Linked DNA regions of Homo sapiens: all the other regions are linked to region 1. The links are contacts of gene promoters, found by promoter capture Hi-C in blood cells and fetal thymus (Javierre and others, 2016). All regions are on one chromosome and are shown on one strand. Each heading gives the region's core, a stretch centred on a gene start or on the middle of the fragment in contact. The rest is flanking DNA. Distances are from core to core; before and after follow the strand shown.

Region 1 (2,700 bases), core at 114-2,613:
CCACTCAGTGTGACCTAAATCCTTGCCGAGGCTTGGCAGCCCTCTGCGGGCGCCCGGATGGCCTCTGGCCTTGGTGACGGTGAGGCCCAGCTCCCCTCAGTTCCCAGCCTTCCCGGAACCCCTTGCCTAACATCCTGTGTGGTAATCATGCCTGTTGGCCCCATTCAGTCCTGCCGGCCACTGCCAAGTTGCCACTGCTAGTTCCAGACGCTCCCACCTCTAATGGAACCATCGGGAAATAAAAAGCTGCAGCACAGTTTCTCTCTCAGGTCAGAATCTCCTCCCAGCACTTTGGGAGGCCAACGTGGGAGAATCACTTGGGCCCAGGAGTTCGAGACCAGCCTGGGCAACAAAGTGAGACCCCGTCTCTACAAAAAGTTGAAAAATTAGTCAGGAGTGGTGGCGAACATCTGTGATCCCAGTTACTTGGGAGGCTGAGGCGGGAGGATCACTTGAGCCTGGGAGGCGGAGGCTGCAGTGAGCTGTGATAGCGCCACTGCACTCCAGCATGGGTGACAGAGCGAGACCCTGTCTCAAAAAAAAAAAAAAAAAAAAAAAAGAAAAAAAGAAAAGAAAAGAAAGAAAAAAGAAAAAGTGGGGAGCAGGTTGGGGAGCATGGTGAGGGCCACCTACTGCCTGATAATGGTGGGGGACAGGAAGGGGACTGAGTGCTCTGAGAGGCAGCTGATCCCGTTTTCTCACTTAAATACCTCTCACCCTACAGAGAAGCCCTGATTCCATTTGCTGTCTTTCTTAGCAATGTCTTAGCAAAAGTCTTCTATTTGCCACACGGGTCCAAGCTTCCGCTTACTAAGCACCCAAGTGCCAGACAACCCCGGAGGCAGGTACTCCCATTGTCCCCACTGTACAGATGAAGAAACTGAACTCAGGGTCACACAAGTGATAAGGGGTGGCAGAGATCTGAAGCTGTGCGCGGAGGCGTGGCCAGCGTGTGCGCTCCGACTTCTAAATCCCTACTCTGGATATTGAAGACGGGAAAGACCGAGCCGCTCATTCTACAGATGGGGAAAAGCGAGGCCTGAGGAGTCCCAGAGCGGGTGCCAGATCGTAGGGAGCAGCCAGCACCCCGGGTCCCCTCCACGACACAACCACGTCCCTCGGCCACTTCTGGGTCCCGCGCGCGTCTCGGACGCGGCAGGACAGCTCTAGGACGCACGGCCACCAGGGGGCCGAAGGGAAGGGCGGGGGCGGAGGCTCGGAGCTGACCCACCGCCTCGCCCCGGAAGCTCCGAGGCCCCGCCCCGGCGGCCGCCAGCGGAGGGCGTGGCCTCGCCGGCGCCCCCGCCCCGCCCCCGCCCCCGCCGCGCGCGCCCCCGCCGCGCGCGCCCCCGGCCCGGGCCCCAGTCTTGCTGAGCGCAAGGCGGTGGAGGCCTGAGGCCTGAGGCCTGGGGCGGGGTGGCGGCCGGGCTGGCCTTGGCCTCGCGCCTTCCCCTGCGGCCGCCGCGGGCTCCGCGGGCGGTATCGGAGTGTCGTGCGGCGCGTGGCCGCGTGACACGCGCACTTGTCGGAGTGACGGGCCCTGCGGAAGAGGAGGTGCGGCCCAGGGCGCAGGGGAGCCCTCGGGAGCGGGCCCGGCCCTCAGCGCCGCCCCGGCCGTGTCCCGGAGGAGCGGCCTGCGCCGCCGCGCGAGAGGAAGTAAGCGCCCCCCGCCGGCCCCGCCGCCGCCCCGGCCCCGGCGCCTCCAACCCGCGCTGCCGCCGGGCCCGAGGCCGCGCCGAGCCCCGGAGCCTGCGCTGCCAGCCCCACGGAGCCTGGGGCTGGCGGCTTTGGAACTGCTCAGGAGGCGGCCAGGCTCCCTCCAGGGTCGCCCCGAGCGGCCGAGCTGTCCTTTCCCTGGGCTTCCCGGAACTGAGTTCCAGGAGAGGGGGAACTCCGAGATTTCCCCCGGGACCTGCTTAATCTTTGGCATTGATTGGCCCTCGGGTTTCACATAGCGTTTCCCGTACCCGGATCTAGTGAACGGTTTTCCAGGGGCAAACCTCTCTGGATCTCTGAAAATCAGCTCACCCAACCTTGAATGCTTAGCCAGAAGTGAGAACTTCTGGAAAGAAGTGTCCTTGCCCACTCCCCCTGCACCCACAACAGGCCCATGGCTCATGAAAGGCAGCAGATGAGGGAAAACTGGTGTCAAATGGGCATATTTTTTATTTTATCTTTTTACTTTTTTATATAAAAGTAAAAAATCTTTTACTTATAAAAGATGGGGTCTTGCTTGGTTGCCCAGGCTGGAGTACAGTGGCACAAACACGGTTCCCTGCAGCCTCCACCTCTTGGGCTCAGGCCATCGTCCTGCCTCAGCCTCCGGGGTAGCTGGGACCACAGGCGCACACCACCACGCCTGGCTAATTTTTAAACCTTTTGTAGAGACAGTGGTCTCACTATGTTGCCCTGGCTGGTCTCGAACTCCTGGGCTCAAGCGATCCTCCTGCTTAAGCCTTACGAAGTGTTGGGATTACAGGTGTGAAGCACCACGCCCAGACAGCGTATTTTAAATTATGCATCATATCCCTTTAATTTTTCATCATTATGATTGGAAGATCATGAAAAGCTGTCTGAGTTTTTCCTTGGCATTTTTCTGTGGTTGATGGTTAGTTGTTGCCCAAGCTGGAGTGCAATGGCGCGATCTCGGCCCACTGCAACCTTCTCCTCCTGGTTCAAGCGATTCTTCCACCTCAGCCT
Region 2 (2,700 bases), core at 48-2,547, 300 kb after region 1:
AGGAGAATTGCTTGAACACGGGAGGCGGAGGTTGCAGTGAGCCGAGATGGTACCATTGCACTCCAGCCTGGGCAACAAGAGCAAAACTATGTCTCAAAAACAAAGATTCTCATTGTATGTATATGCCCTGATCAGGGTATGAAACATTTTTGTCACCCCTAAGAAGTTTTTTCCAGCCTCTTTGCAGTCAGTCCTCTCCTATCCCCGGCCCCCAGCATCCATCCACTCATCTGTTCTCAGTCACTAAAGATTAGTTTTACCTTTTTTAGAATTTCATGTAAATGAAATCATATACTTTTTATGTCTGGTTTCTTTCTTTGCTCTTATTATTTATTTTATTATTATTTTTTGAGATGGAGTCACTCTCTGTCTCCCAGGCTGGAGTGCAGTGGTGCGATCACGGCTTACAACAGCCTCAACCTCCCAGGCTCAAAAGATTCTCCCACCTCAGCCTCCAGAGTAGCTGCGATTACAAGCACACACTACCATACGCAGCTTATTTTTAAAATTTTTTATAGAGTGAGGGTCCATCTGTGTTGCCAGGCTGGTTTCGAAATCCCAGGTTCAAGCAATCTTCAGCCTCTCAAAGTGTTAGAATTATAGGCGTGAACCACCACGCCCAGCGTCAGGGCTTAAGCCATCCTTCTGCCTCAGCCTCTCAAGTAGCCAGGACCACAGGTGTGTGCCATCACACCCAGCTATAAAAATCGTTTTACACTTGATCTTAGCCAAAAGGCCGAGAAGGGATGTAAAAATAATTTAAAAATTTTTTAATATTAAAATAGAGTTGGGTGCCGGGTGTGGTGCCTCACGTCTGTAATGTCAACATTTTGGGAGGCTGAGGCAGGCAGATCACTTGAGGCCAGGAGTTCAAGACCAGCCTGGCCAACATGGTGAAACCCTGTCTCTACTAAAAATACAGAAAAATTAGCCAGGCATGGTGGCACGTGCCTGTAATCCAGCTACTCGTGAGGCAGAGGCAGGAGAATTGCTTGAACCCAGGAGGTGGAGGTTGCAGTGAGCTGAGATCATGCCACTGCACTCCAGCCTGGGTGACAGAGTGAGACTTCATCTAAAAAAATAAATAAAAATAAATAAAATAAAATAGAGATGGGGTCTTGCTATGTTGCCCAGGTTAGTCTAGAGCCGAAATGATCCTCCCACCGTGGCCTCCCAAAGTGATGAGATTACAGAGGTGAGCCACCACACCCAGCCTGTAAAAATAATTTTTTTCTTTTTTGACACGGAGTTTCACTCTTGTCACCCAGGCTGGAGTGCAATGGCATGTTCTCAGCTCACCACAACTCCCACCTCTTGGGTTCAAGCCATTCTCCTGCCTCAGCCTCCCAAGCAGGTGGGATTACAGCCGCCCACCACCATGCCGAAGTTAATTTTTGTATTTTTAGTAGCAGCTTATGGGCCAGGCTGGTCTCAAACTCCTGACCTCAGGTGATCTGCCTGCCTCAGCCTCTCAAAGTGCTGGGATTACTGGCGTGAGCCACCGCGCCTGGCCTAAAAATAATTTTTAAAATTTTTATATTAAAATTGCTGCTAGCAAAACCTTTTTTTTTGTATATTGACCTTATTTCCTGTGATCTTGCTAAATTCACTAATTAGTTCTAGTAGTTGTTATATAGATTACTTAGAATTTTCTAGTAAACAGTTACATCATCTATGACTGAAGACAGTTTCACTTCTTTATGATCTTTACACATTTTTTTTTCTTGCCTTACTGCACTGACTAGGGCCTCTAGCACAACATTGAGTAAGTGGTAACGGCAAATATCTTTGCTTATTGCCAATCTTAGGGGCAGGTGGTCAGTTATTTAATGTTGTGTGTGATGTTAGCTATAGGTTTGGGGTAGACGCTTTATATCAGATAGAGGAATTCCCTCCTGTTCCTTGTTTGCTGAGAGCTTTTTTTCATGAATAGGTGTTCAGTTTTTTCAAATGCTTTTCTGCATCAATTTACATGGTCATCAGGTTTTTTTCCATTATTCTCTCTTTCTCTTTCACTGTTTTTTTTTTCTTTTTTTCCTTTTTTTTTTTTTTTTTTTTTTTTTGCTGTTGACACAGCCCCAGGAGGTCCTGGGAACATGTGTCCCTGTTATTCTCTTAATATGCTGAATTATATGGATTGATTTTTTGAATGTTAAACCAATCTCTAATTCCTGGGCATCTCTCATTTCGTCCTGATGTATTATCCTTTTTCTATATTGCTGGATTTGATTGCCAATGTTTCATTAAAGGTTTTTATCTATTGGAATCTCTGTTGTATACCCAGTACATGGCCATGGCCAATGCCTGAGCTGGTGTCAGAGGAGCTCTAGAAGTCTAGGAAGGGGGCCATCCTAGTCAGGGAAAATAGCAGGTTCAAGCCAGGCGTGGTGGCTCACACCTGTAATCTCAGCACTTTGGGAGGCCAAGGCGGGCGGATCACCTGAGGTCAGGAGTTCGAGCCCAGCCTGGCCAACATAGTGAAACCCTGTCTCTACTAAAAATACAAAAATTAACCAGGCATGGTTGCGGGCGCCTGTAATCCCAGCTACTCGGGAGGCTGAGGCAGGAGAAACGCTTGAACCCAAGAGGTGGGGGTCGCAGTGAGCCGAGAACGCACCATTGCACTCCAGCCTGGGCAACAAGAGTGAAACACCGTGTCAAAAAAAAAAAAAAAGAAAAAACCAACAAAAATTAGCCAAG
Region 3 (2,700 bases), core at 74-2,573, 360 kb after region 1:
CCTCTAGCAGGTTCCCCCTACCTGGTGCTTTCCTAGGCTGAGGACCCAGCGCTGGGCTCGCACCTAGAACAGAGCCCCTCCCACCTGCAGGGAATAGTGAGGCATCCCGCAGGAGCTTTGTTTCAATACATGTCCGTGCTCAGGGCTCTGGAGTGGTGTCATCATTAAGGACACGTGCCCGTCTTGTTTTCCCTCAGTGTGTATGTTGGGCTTGTGGACGGGGCAGGTACAGAGCATGCAGCTGCCCTAGCTTTTTCTTAGGGACCCATCTCCCTCCGGGCTTCCTCAGGCTTCCCAGGGGCTCGGCATCGAGCTAGCAGGAGCCGAGATAGTGGCCTCCAGGCCCTCGTGTCCACCCATCAAATGGGACCCATAGGGCCAGCTGCTGTCCCCCCAGAGCTGGAACCGTTGTGGGCAGGGGCAGCCCCTCCAGGCCCGAGCTCCTCTCTTGCTTGTGTTGCAGGGACATTCTGTCACGTTACCTCAAACCTTGCCCACCAACTGTGGTTTGTCCCAGAGTCAAGTTAAGGACGGAGGTTGTTGGCTTGCAGAAGAGAAGTGGGCTGAGGGGTTTATCAGGGAAACTTGGGGGCTTCTCCCAGAGCAAAAACAGGGTCCAGCCTAGGCTGGCTCAGAAGAGATTGACCCAGATGCTGCCTCAACAGGCCGGGCAGAGGCAAGCATAGGCTAGGGGCCAGGACTTCCCCCACCTGCGTGGGGACCTCGTCCGAGCTGTGGACAGTGTTTCACATGTGGTCATGTGTCTGACGCCGCCGTGCTGGTGCCTGGGGGACCTGCAATTCATGCCCAGCTCCCCATCGACCCCTGGCCTACCTGCCTCTTGGGACCTTTCAGGGCTCACCCCCAAAGGCACTGTGGGAGAGGACCCCCTGGCAGGTAGGGCCCGCCTGGCCAAAGTGGGTGGCAGCTGCTCTGGCCACCAGAGAGCCCACCCCCAACTCTAGCAGGGATTACCCAGGGCTGAGAGTGACAGGAGTTAGAGCTGCTGGCCCCAGGGACAAGGGCTAATCCCTTGCCTCCCCCCTCTTCCGGGCCGCCTCATTCTAGATCAGTGGAGCCATTTCCCTAGCAACAGAGCAGGAGATTCAGAATGGAAACATGACTTCCTGGGGTGGGCGGGGCTTCATGGCAGGCACCCTGGACAGAAGCCACAGCCCCTGCTCAGCTGTCATTGGTCCCCTAGGCAGGCTCAAGGGTTGACCTTCCTTTTCAAACAGGGTAAGAGAGCTGAGGGGCCTTCCGTGGGGATAGGAAGCCTGTCACCCAAAGTCAGTTGGGTGCAGAGCCTTGTCCGGCTCAGGGGTGGGGGGTCACACAAGCAGGTCTTCACCCATCAGGACACGCCCCCATGCACAGTTACAAAGAAGCCTGTACAACAGCTAGTAATTAGCACAGGGAAGTCCACGTGCTTAGTTGCCCGGGAGTGCTAGATGCGGGCACCGCAGCAGAGCAGGTCTCCACATGCCCCAGAGCGAGTCTCCTTCCCTGGCTGTTCATGTAGTCGGCGCCCGGTGGCGCTGTCCTAATGCCGAGCACTGAGCGCCTCCCTGCATTCTCCTGTAGGATCCTCACAGTGGCCTCTCCTGGGGCAGGGATGCTCAGCAGCCCCTTTTGACAGGTGAGGGATGAGACTGCGGCCCTAGAAGGCAGAGCTGCTCTCCAAGGCCATGCCTGTTGCCATACTGCCTGCCCAGCTGGCTGGCTCCGTTTCGTCGCTGGTCTGCAGGCCTTGCCCGCTGTCTCCATGCTGTTGACAAGATGCAGCGGTCCTTGTCCTCTGTGAGGGCTTGGGCCTGTGCTGGGGCAGGGGGTGTGGGGTGAGAAGGGTGTGGGCCGAGGCTGCTGGGGGAGATCCCAGCTGCCCCTGTGGGCCCTGGGCCTTCCCCGCAGGGCCTGGTCCCATCTCCCCTTCTCTCCCAAGCCTCCCCCCACTCCATGTAACTTGGCTTTTTTGCGTACATACTCTAGGCCAGTCACTGTTAAGTGCGTCCCACGAGCAGTCCCTTGTGAGGGAGGTGCTTTTGTCCCCAGCTGACAGGTGATCACACATCTCCCTTCATATGCCCCTGGTCAGGAGAAGGGGGTGGAGGGGAGGGCCGGGCAGCAGCAGTAGTGTCAGAAGCGGGAGCCCTGCTTCCCAGGGCCCAGCCTCCCCCTCAGGCCCCTGGCCAGCCCGATGGGTTAGCGACAGAGCTGGCTCTTTGCAGAGCACAGCACCTTTCTGTCTTGTGTCACTGCGTCCTTGCAGCATGCAGAAGCCGGGGGTGCTGTGGTTGCCCCCACTTCACAGATGTGGACACTGAGGCTGAGAGTACAGGAACTTCCTGGGGCTCCGTCCTCCTTTCTCTGAGCAGCGCCTCAGGATGAAAGGCCAGAGGGCCGTGCTCTCTGGTCCTGTGGACGGGGGGCCGTCTGTGCAGGGAGTGGCTGCCCACTCTGGCAGGGGCTCAAGCGGTGTCCTCGAGCTGGAGGTGGCCCCTGGGGGAGAGGTGGAGAGTCGGAGCAGCAAAGCCGGGGCCCCAGGGCTCCCACAGCTGCTGCCTGTCACCCACATTGTTCCTGGATTTCCGGAACTGGGGGGCTTTTTTGGGCAGTGGCGGTCTCTCTGCCCACCCCTCCCCAGTCCCCCAGTGTCCCACAACCAATGAGGTGGGTAGAGGGGGGCCCAGAGCATAGATC

Evidence for each region. Contacts are between HindIII fragments. The CHiCAGO score rates a contact against its expected background, and 5 or more counts as called.
Region 2: a fragment that was not itself captured here is called in contact with the fragment with the promoter of H6PD in region 1 in 1 of 17 cell types (fetal thymus); the score reaches 7.2 in fetal thymus.
Region 3: a fragment that was not itself captured here is called in contact with the fragment with the promoter of H6PD in region 1 in 1 of 17 cell types (fetal thymus); the score reaches 6.3 in fetal thymus.

Annotation. Positions count from the first base shown.
Region 1 is chr1:9,233,411-9,236,110 of GRCh38, forward strand. H6PD (hexose-6-phosphate dehydrogenase/glucose 1-dehydrogenase) reads left to right here and starts at 1,364. Exons shown (of 5, transcript NM_004285.4): 1 at 1,364-1,656. RefSeq lists a silencer at 1,217-1,776. The HindIII fragment of the contact is 5,189 bases long and covers 799-2,700 here.
Region 2 is chr1:9,534,523-9,537,222 of GRCh38, forward strand. No RefSeq gene overlaps it. Among named protein-coding and RNA genes, the nearest start is that of SLC25A33, 3.6 kb to the right of the region's middle. The HindIII fragment of the contact is 4,795 bases long and covers 1-2,700 here.
Region 3 is chr1:9,592,509-9,595,208 of GRCh38, forward strand. The region is part of intron 1 of TMEM201 (transmembrane protein 201); the gene reads left to right. Among named protein-coding and RNA genes, the nearest start is that of TMEM201, 4.9 kb to the left of the region's middle. RefSeq lists enhancers at 903-1,500, 1,403-1,697, 1,501-2,097 and a silencer at 1,403-1,697. The HindIII fragment of the contact is 5,102 bases long and covers 1-2,700 here.